3 separate regions of the Homo sapiens genome follow, and regions 1 and 2 are each linked to region 3. The links are contacts of gene promoters, found by promoter capture Hi-C in blood cells and fetal thymus (Javierre and others, 2016). All regions are on one chromosome and are shown on one strand. Each heading gives the region's core, a stretch centred on a gene start or on the middle of the fragment in contact. The rest is flanking DNA. Distances are from core to core; before and after follow the strand shown. Region 1 has its middle 6.4 kb from the start of GSX2. Region 2 holds the start of PDGFRA (platelet derived growth factor receptor alpha). Region 3 holds the start of DCUN1D4 (defective in cullin neddylation 1 domain containing 4).

Region 1 (3,969 bases), core at 1,151-3,650, 2.3 Mb after region 3:
GCACACTCGCCCCCACCTCGCCTTCGCTCTTTACACGAGCTTGCGCGCAGACACACTCAAGGACTCCCTACCCACTTACACTCACGCATGCGCACAGGCGCACACGCTAACTCTGCCTCCTCACTCGCGCTCGTGCATGCGCATCCGTCGCGGAGAGGACTTTGTGCCTGGTGTGGGAGCGGGTGTTTGGTGGCCTTTGCGGATGGGCTTGTTTTGAGGCTGTGGGGTCAGTGCGATCGTTTAGATTTCCTTGGTTTCCCAGTGAGAAATAAGTTAGCCAGGAAGAGAGAGAGGCGGAGACCCAGGGAGACCGAGACTGGAGGAAGGGAGTAGGTTGAGGTTTTAGAGCCGTGGGAGCAAGAGCGCCGGGTAGGAGCTGTCGCGCAGAGAGCACCTCGCGCAGCCCCAGAGCCTGTTTGTTTACCCTCTTCCTCGGAGCGGCTTCTCCAGCGTCTCATTTCTTCTGCCTCCCTTGCCCTCGCCCAGGTGTGGGACGCGGGCGAGTGAGGACAGACTTACAACCGTCCTCGGCCGCGCAGCACAGGGTTCCCGCGCCCTGTCCCTATGCCCCGGGGACACAGGGCAGGAGGCTGAAAAAGGGACTCAGCGTTAGAAACTATGGTTGGAATTCTCCCCCTGCCACTTGCTATGTGGCCTTGGCCAGTTTACCGTTGTCTCGGAGCCTCCGTTTCCTATCTGAAATAAGGAATCATTCATTCAACAAATATTAATTGCCATCCTAATATATGTCACCTCTGGTCTGGACATTTGGCATACACTGGTGAATACATAAAACAGACCCAGTTTCTGCCCAGGAGCAGTTTGCAGTCAACAAGCATACGGATTGATTATGAAGAGGGCTTTTGAATTAAATAATAAAATATTGCTTTCATCCACTCCAAATGTTTTTCAGCGCTTACTGTGTTCTGGGCACAGGTGAATAAAAACAATCATGTTCCCTGTCCTCATTCTAATTTCAGTCCGTACATTGGACTGGCCCTCAGAACCTTTAATATGTAGGAAAACCAACCACACTAACCAACAAATGGACAGCCAACAAATAAGGAAGTAATAAAAGCACCTACCTCACAGGGTTGCTGTGAGAAATAAAGGAGGCATTAAAGTCTTCAGCCACTGCCAGGCATATAGTAGGTGTTCAATAAATGCTAGGTGTTATCAGGTGGTTAGTATTGCTTAGTGCCTAAAAGGCTCTGCCATCACTAGCTGTGTGACCTTGGTTCAGTCTTTGAACTTCAGTAGTTCAAATAGGGTTCTCCGCAAACATAATGAGGAGAAAATAATGGCATTTTATCTGGGAGGGCTGTTGTGCGGATTAATGAGGTCATGCAGGCAAGGCTCTTGGTTCAAGAACTGCCACACAGTGAGAGCTCAGAAAATGTACCTACGAGTATTGTCATATACTCGAAAGGCGACTGTTTTCCTCCTATGCAAAGCAGGTGGGTGTGCAGCAAAGCTGGGAGGTTTCTAATATCATAGGAACGTTTTGAAATTTAGGGCGCAGTCCCAAGTAGGGACGGCCAGGACGCCAGAGCCTTTGACGGGGGTGGGGAGTGGCGAGGTTAATGTAACTGCTGAACAAACATATGCCCGGAAACCGAGGGATAGAAAGGCCCCACACTGGGCGCCTTCAGGGTGCGAGCGCCAGGCTGTGGAGGAGCCTTAGAGGGCAACACTCGGCCGGGAAAAGGCGCGGGGGGACGGAGAGATGATTGTGCAGCGGCTTCCTGGCTCCTAGTTGCCAAGCCCAGGGACTCTGATACCTAATTTACAAGCTTCAAGAGCCTATGGAGCTGCAGGTCTCAGATAATAATAAAACCAACAAGAGAAGCCACGAGCCTTACCAGGCACCAGGCCCGGTGTTAGGCAGTCCTGAATTCCTCACAAAAACTCGAAGACGATGGCATTTTCTCTATTTTACAGATGCAGAAACTGAAATTCTTTCTCCACTTTCCTAGGCCTCCTTTCAGTTTTTGCAATTAACCAAGAGAAACTCTCGGAGGCTCCCGTGAGCACCCTTAGGTGGCCGGGAACGCATTCCCCATCCCTCTTTCCCAGGCCAACACCCGCACATCTTGCAGGTCTCCGTTTAAATGTCACTTCAAGCTTCGGTTTTATCATCACCCAGAGCCCCTTGAGCTTTTCTTTCATATTCACACGACCTTTTTAACTCACCAGCTCCGAGTTAATTTGTTGATTCGCTTAACCTGGAAACTCCCCGGGGGCGGGTCTTGTGCTACTGAATTCCCTTGCGCGCAGCCTGGGGTATAATAGGCGCTCAATACACACTTTCCAACTATCAAATGACCAGATAAGGCTCAAAAAAGTTACGTTGCTCTCTTCAGATTCCATGGTAGGAGGGCGTAGGGGGCAGGATTTATCAGTTATTTCTCAACTACATCAGAACCGCATGCAGAATTCTGGTTGACTTCTGTCTCCCCCTCCATCTACACCCCGCCGTGTTCCAGCCTCACATCATTAAATCGAAATCCCTTAGGTAATCAGTATTTTTATAAAGCTCTCCAGGTGATTTTTGTAGATGACCAAGATCAAAAACCAGAAGGGCTGGGCTGCTAAAAATTATAAAGAATTGCTCTTATTTTAGTGACTTTTTTTTTTTTAAGTCTTTGCTCCCATAACTAAGCAGCTATTTTGGCTCCAAGCTTTCAGAAAATTTAGGCCAAGGGAAGTGGGGAATTGGTATGCATGTGAATAATTCAACCCTCCTCTTACACACTCCTGCCTCCCCCGCCCGCCCTCCAATACAAAAACCACATCTCTGAATAGGGTAGTAAAAAATAGTAAGTGCCAGGAGAACTGGAGAGGGAGGGAGGGAGGTGAAGCATTTGCTTCAATTATCCGGATAATTGTTCCCCACCTCAGGCCATTGTTACTGAAATGAAACAATATTCTATTGGATACTGTCTTGGCCTTTTCAGGCCTGCTCCCTGCAGTGCCTAGCACACGCTGGGCACAGAGTAGGCGCTCGATAAATTTTATTCTGATGACAGAGGAGAGCTCTGAGGGTGGGAGAGGGATGCCTTGTTCGGCTTGAGGATTTGGGGGTGGGCGAATATTAATTAAAGTGAAGTGGGGAGCAGAGGGGCTGTGTGGCAGGCATTCAGTGCCATCACAACTTTTTTCCAACTGGGCCGTTCCTGAAATTCTAAGCCAAACCCCTCACTTATTTCTCAGAAGACCTCCACTACCACCCCCCACCCCCCTCTCCCCGCTGCTTCTTCTCAGAGGGCCGAATTGAACTCTTGCAACTGTGGTGAGCACAAAGGCGAATTCAGGTTTCTCAAAAGCCCATCCGTTCTGAATAAACACCAGGGAGAAGCAAGATTATTTTTGGTGGTGCATGAACACAGGGCCCACAGCCTGCCCTCCCTCTAGAAAGGCCTTCCCTGGCCTTGCATTAAAACTAACAATATTGGGGCAGCTGAAGGAATAGCCTGGCTCCTGAGCCCCCCATCACTCAAGCAGTACAAGAATGTGGGGACTAGCTCCCAACTGCCCTCTTTCATCTTGACCCACAGCTTTTCAAGAGGAGCTTGAGTTCTCTATGAGTGTGTATTTGCTAATTGCAGCCGGGGCTTTAATGAGATTCTTTTAACTCCCCCAAGCTCGTTTGCAGGTTATAGCCTTATCTGGGGACCCACGTTTTCCACCCTGGCTACACATCCTGTGAACAATTGCCTCTCCAGAGCCTGAAAGGAGAGCGAGCGCCCCATTTCTGCTGAATACACTTCTCAGTTCATCCAAGGCTGGCGGGCTTTTGATGGCCACAATGCAAGTTACGCCCAAAGAGTGTCTCTTTGGTCAGATCGACAACGCTTGGCTTCACGTTTGCAAGTTAAACGGGCAGAAACCCGGCTGAAACTCCCACGCCAGACGCCAGGGACGTTTCCCTCCGCCCTGCTCAGAGCAAAACTGGGGAATGGGTCTGGG
Region 2 (4,098 bases), core at 904-3,403, 2.4 Mb after region 3:
CTTTGCACAGTCTCTCCGCAAAATTTTCCCCCAACCATTTGCTTTCTTGCGCCACCCCCCACCGGGGCACTATCCCTGGAGTCAGCTCCTCAGGCCTTTAAACCTTCCAGAATGTCACACATGGAAACCTTTAGCAAATGTTTGTTAATGATCATAACAAAGGCATCATTCAAATTAGGCAGGTAATTACTACCAGAAGGACAACTGGGTGCTCGCTTGCTCATCCATTGCTTTCTGCTTTAAACTCCCGAGGAGTCGCTGCCTGGAGACACTCCCGCCCGGACTGCTTCTCGGGCCCCATTAAACGGCTCTGAAATGAACTGTGAAGTTACCATTTGTGGGCGGAGAGCGCTGGGGCCCTGCGGACGGAAGACCCTGGCTTGACCGGACTAACAGTGTCGCCGAAGCAAAGCAGCCCCTCTGGGTAGGCTGTCTGTCTCGCCTCCTACCCTCTGGGGCAACTAGCCTAAAAACCCGGTTCTCAACTTAACAGCATGTGGCCCAGCACCCGCTTTTGCCTTTTATTCCGCACTCTGATTTTTGGGGGGATCGTTTGTTCCCGCTCATTTTCTACAAACATTACGGTATCCTGTTAGCATTCCGAACAAGGGGCTGTTCATATATTTGCCTTCAATGATTTCCTGAAGGGACATGTGGAAGTAATAGCGAGCGGTGCAGTCACCCAAGCTGAAGATGCACGAGAGCGGGTCGCGTAGAAGAACTGCGGCAATGGGACCCCCAGCGCAGCCCCAGGCGCCCTGTTTTCGAGGCTGACATCCCAAGATCCTGTCCTGGTTAGGCACAGCACCGCGCCCGTTGGAGTACTTCTCTGTGACTCTCCCCTGTCCACTGCACTGTGTCCACCCTCCTGGTGAAGGAGGAGACGGCTGTTGGACATGCCAGTCCCAACCTGGCCACTTTGGCCATTTTCAGAGTGCGTGTGTTGGGGTGGGGTTGAGGGAGAAGGATGAAGGATGACCCCCAACCCCAACAGGAGAATTCAAAAATCAGAGAGCGATGAAGGTGAACGCGCTCCCCTCCCCCGCTGTCGCTGGGAAGCCCCACTCTGCCCAGGTCTGGTTCCTGGAGCATCAGCGCCCCCTTTCCCTCGCCGGCAGGATCGTTTCCTCCCGACACTGGCCTCTCGCCTTGGGCGCAGGGTTTGGGGCTCAGCTGTCAATTCCAAGGAATTCGTAGGGTTCGACCCACGCGGCGGGAGGGAACGGAGGGAGAATCAAAAGGCATCCTCCCCCACGACGCGGAGGCGGTGGTACGATTCCTCAAACGCCCAAGCTTGAGCTTTTTTTGTATGCGAGATAGAAGCCAGGGCAACCTCGCCCAGATAACCCCGAAAACAAAGGCACGACCAGATAAGTGACTTCAAGGGAGTAAAGGTCGTTCTATCGGAGAACGTTCCAAACCTACACAGACCCTCTTTTCTTTGTACCGTATTTCAGACCACCCAGTCTTGTACACACACACACACCACACAAAACAAAAACCCATCATTGTCATATTGGACTCAACAGTTTGCCCAATCCTATTAAATAACTAGCAACTATATAGCCCTTCCCCTAAAAGACCCCTAGTTCAAAACGGCGCAACCGCTTGGAGATTTCTCCCGAGGGCCCTATTTCTCGTTGGGCCGAGTTTGTAGAAGGGACATTTCTTGATTCTAGATTTATATTCTCTCTGGGTATTAAATGCAATTTTGTATGTTCCTTTTCTTCTTTTCAAAGAGAATACAAAACTATAGCAGTCTAAGAAAATAACCCCAAAATGGGGAGGCAAACTCATTCTGGAAATGATGGGCTGTTTGTAGTTTCACAAAACCTCTTTCCCGGCAGAGCACCAACACCTCCCCCTTCCACCACCCCCCATCCCATCTGGTCTGCTTCTCCCCGCCCCCCAGTTGTTGTCGAAGTCTGGGGGTTGGGACTGGACCCCCTGATTGCGTAAGAGCAAAAAGCGAAGGCGCAATCTGGACACTGGGAGATTCGGAGCGCAGGGAGTTTGAGAGAAACTTTTATTTTGAAGAGACCAAGGTTGAGGGGGGGCTTATTTCCTGACAGCTATTTACTTAGAGCAAATGATTAGTTTTAGAAGGATGGACTATAACATTGAATCAATTACAAAACGCGGTTTTTGAGCCCATTACTGTTGGAGCTACAGGGAGAGAAACAGAGGAGGAGACTGCAAGAGATCATTGGAGGCCGTGGGCACGCTCTTTACTCCATGTGTGGGACATTCATTGCGGAATAACATCGGAGGAGAAGGTAAGGGAAAAGAAAAAATGATTTTTTGTTTATAAGGGAAGTCCCTGATCAGACTCTGGGACTGGAGAAAGCGAAGTAACTTCAAACTTTGGGCGACAAGAAAAAAAAAAAGGAGCTGGATTCCAGTTGTGTGTCCAGAGAGTAATTTTTTTTTTTCGGAATAAACTTCACTTGGGGACGGGTGGGAGATAACCATAGAGTTAGAAAGTCTAGGTATTTTTTTTAAACACACATTTTCCAGACCTATTTTTAAAAACAATGTTTTTCTAACAACCCTATGGCCTCCCAAAGAAATTGTTTAGGCTTACATTTTTGAGGTTTCTTTTGGGAGTGGGGGTGGTGTTCGTGAATACTGGGCCGAACACCAAGGAACTGGGGGTGGAGGCAGAGGTGTTTGCCCTCTTCTTGGCAGTGGGTCCTGGAAGGCGACAGGTTTTAAATGAGTGTTTTCATTCCTCGCCTGCGGTTTGGCGGGACAGCGCTGCAGCCCATGGTGTGGAGCGCGGCTGGGGGACCAGGGGGAGGTGGGGAGAGGGGAGCGTGGAGGGGAGCGTGGAGGGGGGCGCGCGAAGGGGTTGCGGGGCGCAGGAGGCGGGCTGGGCTCGGCTGGAGACCGGACCTCGGTGTTGGCCTACAGCACAGGGAGCCGGCCGAATGCGCGTGATTACTGGACGGCGCTGCTCTGGGAGAGAGTCGGGGCCAGATTTGGCGCGGCGGTGAGGCGGCTGCGGGACAAGCAGAGGCGCGCGGGCGTGGGCAAGGGTTTGGGGCGCTCTGGAGCGGTTTGTTGGGTCAGTGAGGTGCCAGGGAGAGCGGGTGCCTGCCGGGCAGTGTGCTCGGGTTGCACGCCCTAGCGCGGGGGCGACAGCGGCGGCGCGGGCGGGCGGTCTGGAATAATGACAAACACATTTGGCCCTGAGTGAAGAAGTCGTCGTCGCCTCGCATTCCAGCAACTGGGATTTGAGGAATTTCGAACCGCACACCAAGGGGCCCTCATTGTGCTCCGTGGCCCCCGCCCCCGCCTGTCTTCCCGCGCCCCCTCCTCGGTGGAATCATTTCTGCATTGCCCGGGGGCTCTGCTTTCGCTCAGTTCTGGCCGCAGGCAGGAAGAGAGGAAAGGTCTCCAGGAAGGTGCCGAACTTCTTGTGAGGAAGTTAGGGACGACTTGGAACTGGGGAAACTTGTTTGCAGGTAAGACAGAAAGGTGGGAGGTAAACCATATTCTCCCTCCGGGCACCCGAGCCCTGGACACCCCCTACCCGGCACCCTTCTCCGCGCGGGGGTGCGTGGCACTTGCCGTCTGAGCTCGCCCAGCGCTGCTCGGTCCTCTCTAGTTGGCCTTTTTTCCATTCCTCTCCCTGCCGGCTTCAGAGCCGTCTGTGCGTACTTCTCCTTCCTCTGCTGTCTACCCCCATGGAAACCAGATTTACACACGAAATTAACTCCGCCCGGCTGCGCCCAGGGAGCGGGCGGCGTCCATTTGGCATTGAATATGTGGGATCAGCTGTTCTATTCCGGGAGGGTGTCGGCCAGGTCGGAGCGACGAGTGTGGCCCAACCCGAGTACGTTGCCAGAGGGAGCCAGGAGCCTGGGCCGGGCCAGGTGTGCGAGAGCTGCCGATGGCCTGGCCTCGCGTCTTGGTCGGGAAGGACTTGCTGGCCTGGCAGGCTGTGCGTTGTGCATCCCTCCCGCAGCCAGAGCGCCGGTCCCGCACTTCGCTCCCCGAATTGTGCTAAGACCTCAGGATGTGCGCAAGGAGTGCCTGGAAGAACTTGCCACTCACTCCATCTTCCTGGGTGGGAGGCAAGCATGGATGGGGCCC
Region 3 (3,722 bases), core at 688-3,187:
TCTTTGAAGTACCATGGTAAACGGTAAAAAAAAAAATCATAAATATTACACACACAAAAGATTTGAAACTTGTATTAAATGACATATAATTTATTATTTCCTAGATGTAGATTAAGCTGAAACATAAATAGAATAAAGAATGCAGGAGCAGCTTCCCTGCTCAGAGTAAGGGCGGATATTCTTACTGCTAGATCTGCCCAACAAGCAATCCCCTATCTCAGAGTCCAGAGGTACCTACCCATCACTGTGGGGCCCCGCTGAGGTACTGTCATGATAAAGGTGATCAATAAGGATGTTCTATGAGAGATTCTTGTCTTGCGAAAGAACCTGAAGCAAATAATAAATAACTTCAGGTACAGTTCTGAGATTCCATAAAGTGATTCATAAATGTTTGAATGATAAAAATATTATATAAATAGTATTATAAGGATGTAATTTATTAAAGAGAAATTAGCGATTAAGATGGAGGGAGCATTTTACCATGGGAGTGCTGTGGGACACAGAAACTGGTTTGTCTGAGCCCCTTCCAAATAGCATAACATTTGTGTCCTGATTTAAAATCTAAATTTCAGAGCCTGGAAACCCAAAAGCCTGGGCTGTAGAAATCTAAAACCAAAAAGACCGTGCGTTCTGTTACCTGTGATTTGTGGTGTCACCTACTCTTTGAGGCTCCCAGATGGCCCAGGGCCTTAGGATATGGGGATGCCTTGTAGGTGTGTTGTTGTTGGAGTTGGTGGCTGGGATGAGGGTGGAGGCAGGGTAGGGTGGGGGTGGGTTGGGGTGGGGGGAATCCTCCGTTAATATCTCGAAATATTGTTCTGTTACCATAATGCGGTGTGATAAGTTAGCTTCAAGTATTGAAAAATCAGGGCAGGACTCATGGAAATGGTGCGAATTCTTGACTTAGGGTCAGAAGAATTCACCAAAATTAACGTCTCCCTCTGCCAAATAACAGCCAGTTTCAATTTCTGGACGGCCTCTCCGCGGGAGTGACAGGTTTTCTTAGATGCCGCCGGGGGTCTTTCACGGGCTGGTGGTCTGCCCCCTGGACTCGTCCATGTGTTAGGCTCAGTCCGCAGCTCAGAGCGCGGCCCTGTATTTCTGTCTGATGTCTGGGGCATACAGATGTGTGTGACGGACAATGCTCGTGGCATTCGAAGCCTCTTTAACAGACATTAGTGACTAGAGGAAAGAAGTGTGCGAACTCTGCGAAACAAGTATGCGGACTCTGGAAAAGAAGTACATTTCGAAAGTGGGGAGAGGATGGATCTTCGTAGGAGAAATGGAAATTTGCTCCCCACCAGAAGGTTTGCTGGAAATTAAGACGCGGCAATTCTTAATCCAGTTTCCTGCGGTAGGAAGCAGCTGACAAGAGAAGTCCCAGTCCGAGTTCGGCGCGAACTGGACAAGTGTCGTGGGACAAGTGGCGGGAGACCCGGCCGCGTCGCGCCGGGCGCTAGGGACGGACGCATTTCCCTACTTCCAGCAGCTGGTACGAGCCGCCCCCAACTGCGCTGCGCTGCTCTATTCTTTGGGAAACACTTCGCGTGCTTTGTTTCAGACGCCGACCCATCTTTCTTGGTGGGTCTCCAGCTCCACCAATCCCGCCCGCCACTGGGCGGGGTTTCAGGGTCAAGGTGGACCAATTTCCCAGCTTCGCCCCTACACGCGCTCTCGGACCCCTGGGGGTGACTGACAGCAGCCGGGCCCAACCCGCTGCTCCGGAGCATGGCCTCCGCCAGGGGCGTTACGGAGACAAGGCCCCAGGACCAATCGTATTGGCCAGTGGGGGGCGGGGCCTCGTTGCCAGCTCCAGACCGGCGCTATGGGCACTCCTTTTGTCAAATGAGAGACGCAGCAGGGCGGCCCCTGAGCCGCGGTTTAGCCAATGGAGAAGGCGAGATGGGCGGGCTGGGAGTGCCCGGCGGCGGGTCCTCAGCTTCGAGCCGAGGTGCAGTGAGCTGGTGGGGGGACCGCGAGGCGAGCGCGGGAGCCTGGGCGGCGAGCCGGGTGTGAGCTGCCTGAAAATGCACTCGGATGCCGCCGCTGTCAGTGAGTAGCAGAGAGCCAGCCAGCGGGCCGGGGCCGGGCGGCTGCCAAACTCGCCACTCGGCTCCCGCAGTCCCCGCCCCACGCCTCGGGTCCCGAAACGCGCCGGGAGCCCCTGCCTGGGAACCACCCCTTCCCCTCCCGGGGCCGGGGCGGGCGGTGACGCTGCGGGCGGCGTGGGGCGGGGGCGGGCGTGGGGGGAAGGGACCGGCCTGCGGGGAGGGCGGAGGTGAGGGGGGTGGGGACTGGCTCTCTTTCAGTGTTGGGGGAAGGGAGGGCTGGACGTGCGATGAAGGGCCGAGATCGGAGTGTCCGGGGTGCATGGAGGTGGAGGCAGCGTTGGGCTGTAGCGGGCAGGGCCGGGGATGTGGGGGGGTGGCACCGGCGGGGAGAGGGAGGGAGCGAGCGAGCGAGCGGGGCACAAGGGTGAGGATTTCCAAAGGGCTGAGTGGTGCGGGCGGCTCCGTGAGAAAGGCGGGTGAGTGCGAGGGGGGCGCGGGGGCGGGGACAATGGGAAGAAGGGCTGGTTGGCGGGGGGGTGGGGGGGGGGCGGCGAACAATGGGGTGGGGGAATGGGGGCAGCGGCCGAGCGGGGCAGGAGGGCGGGCGACTGGACGAGGGCTGATGTAACGGGAAAGCGAGGTGGTGGGAGGGACTGGGGTGTAATGGTAGTTGGGGAGTCCTGCGGGGCGGGAGGGGCGTTGGAAGGGCGGTGGGTAACGGAGAGTGGTGGGAGTGGAAGATGTTGGGGTAAAGAGATGGGGCAGGTGTGGAAGGGTAGGGCGATTGGGAGGAAGAGGAGAAAAAGGTGGGTAGGATTTGGGGTGGCAGAGTGGGGGCAGGGGTGGAGAATATGAAATGGGGGTGAGGAGCTAGTCGGGGAGGAAGGGGAGGTGGGGCGGAGTTGGGCAGGAGGACTGTCACGTCCAGATTCGGTCCGGAGCCGGGCTAAGGGGGTGTCAGACTGTGCTTAGGGGAGGTACTTCCTCTCCCTGTCGAGGCAGGGTCCCTTGAAGGGGGGAGTCCAAGCTTCGGGGTGCGGAGAGAGGAGGGGGCGGGGCTGAGGTGGAGGAGACGGGGTAAGTGCCCTAAGGTTGGAACTGGCCGTGGTTCCCCCCGGACGGCGGGAAGCGAGGTCAGCGCTGGCGCGGGCTCCGGCAGCGGGACTAGGAGGCGGGGCAGGGGTGCGGGCTGCGGGGTTTCAGCAGCGGGAGCCGGAGGGGTCGGGCCCTGATGGCCGGGTCGGGGGCTTGGCGCCGGGGAGGTGTCGGGGTCCCTGGCAGTCCGTGGGTTTGATAGTCTGTGACGCAGTTGTCTAATTTCTGGCTATCAGGTGTGGGGGTTGGTGCCATGGAACCCGCTTCCTTAGAGGGATGGCCGGGCCCTAGGCCGCGCCCCACGCCCGGGGGGCGCGACTTCTCCCAGGCGTGCTGGGAGGGCGCTTGAGGGGTTTCCTTTAGGGTTTGTCTCCAGTCAACGGGTATGAAGGGGAAAGGCGGTCCCGCCGAATTCTGGGACTTGTAGTCGCGGCCGCGCCCGGCCGCGGTTGGGTTGGGTGCACGTGGGTAACTGTGGAAACGGGTCCCGGCATGCAGCGCGCCCTTGGAGCCTTCCTGCTCGGCCAACTCGTGCTTTATTCCCCGGCCAGCTCCTGCGCGCTCTCGGGAGGCGGT

What was found. Contacts are between HindIII fragments. The CHiCAGO score rates a contact against its expected background, and 5 or more counts as called.
Region 1: a contact is called between a fragment that was not itself captured here and the fragment with the promoter of DCUN1D4 in region 3, in 1 of 17 cell types (non-activated CD4 T cells). The highest score is 5.9, in non-activated CD4 T cells.
Region 2: the fragment with the promoter of PDGFRA here is called in contact with the fragment with the promoter of DCUN1D4 in region 3 in 2 of 17 cell types (naive CD8 T cells and total B cells); the score reaches 6.3 in naive CD8 T cells.

What each region holds. Positions count from the first base shown.
Region 1 is chr4:54,091,822-54,095,790 of GRCh38, forward strand. It overlaps a transcript of CHIC2 not described here. Among named protein-coding and RNA genes, the nearest start is that of GSX2, 6.4 kb to the right of the region's middle. RefSeq lists an enhancer at 1,203-1,822. The HindIII fragment of the contact is 557 bases long and covers 2,123-2,679 here.
Region 2 is chr4:54,227,140-54,231,237 of GRCh38, forward strand. PDGFRA (platelet derived growth factor receptor alpha) reads left to right here and starts at 2,154. Exons shown (of 23, transcript NM_006206.6): 1 at 2,154-2,276. RefSeq lists an enhancer at 627-1,452. The HindIII fragment of the contact is 8,996 bases long and covers 1,292-4,098 here.
Region 3 is chr4:51,841,216-51,844,937 of GRCh38, forward strand. DCUN1D4 (defective in cullin neddylation 1 domain containing 4) reads left to right here and starts at 1,938. Exons shown (of 11, transcript NM_001040402.3): 1 at 1,938-2,052. The coding sequence starts at 2,028. RefSeq lists silencers at 1,666-1,815, 1,826-1,875, 1,966-2,315, 2,416-2,495, 3,046-3,165. The HindIII fragment of the contact is 3,870 bases long and covers 1-3,076 here.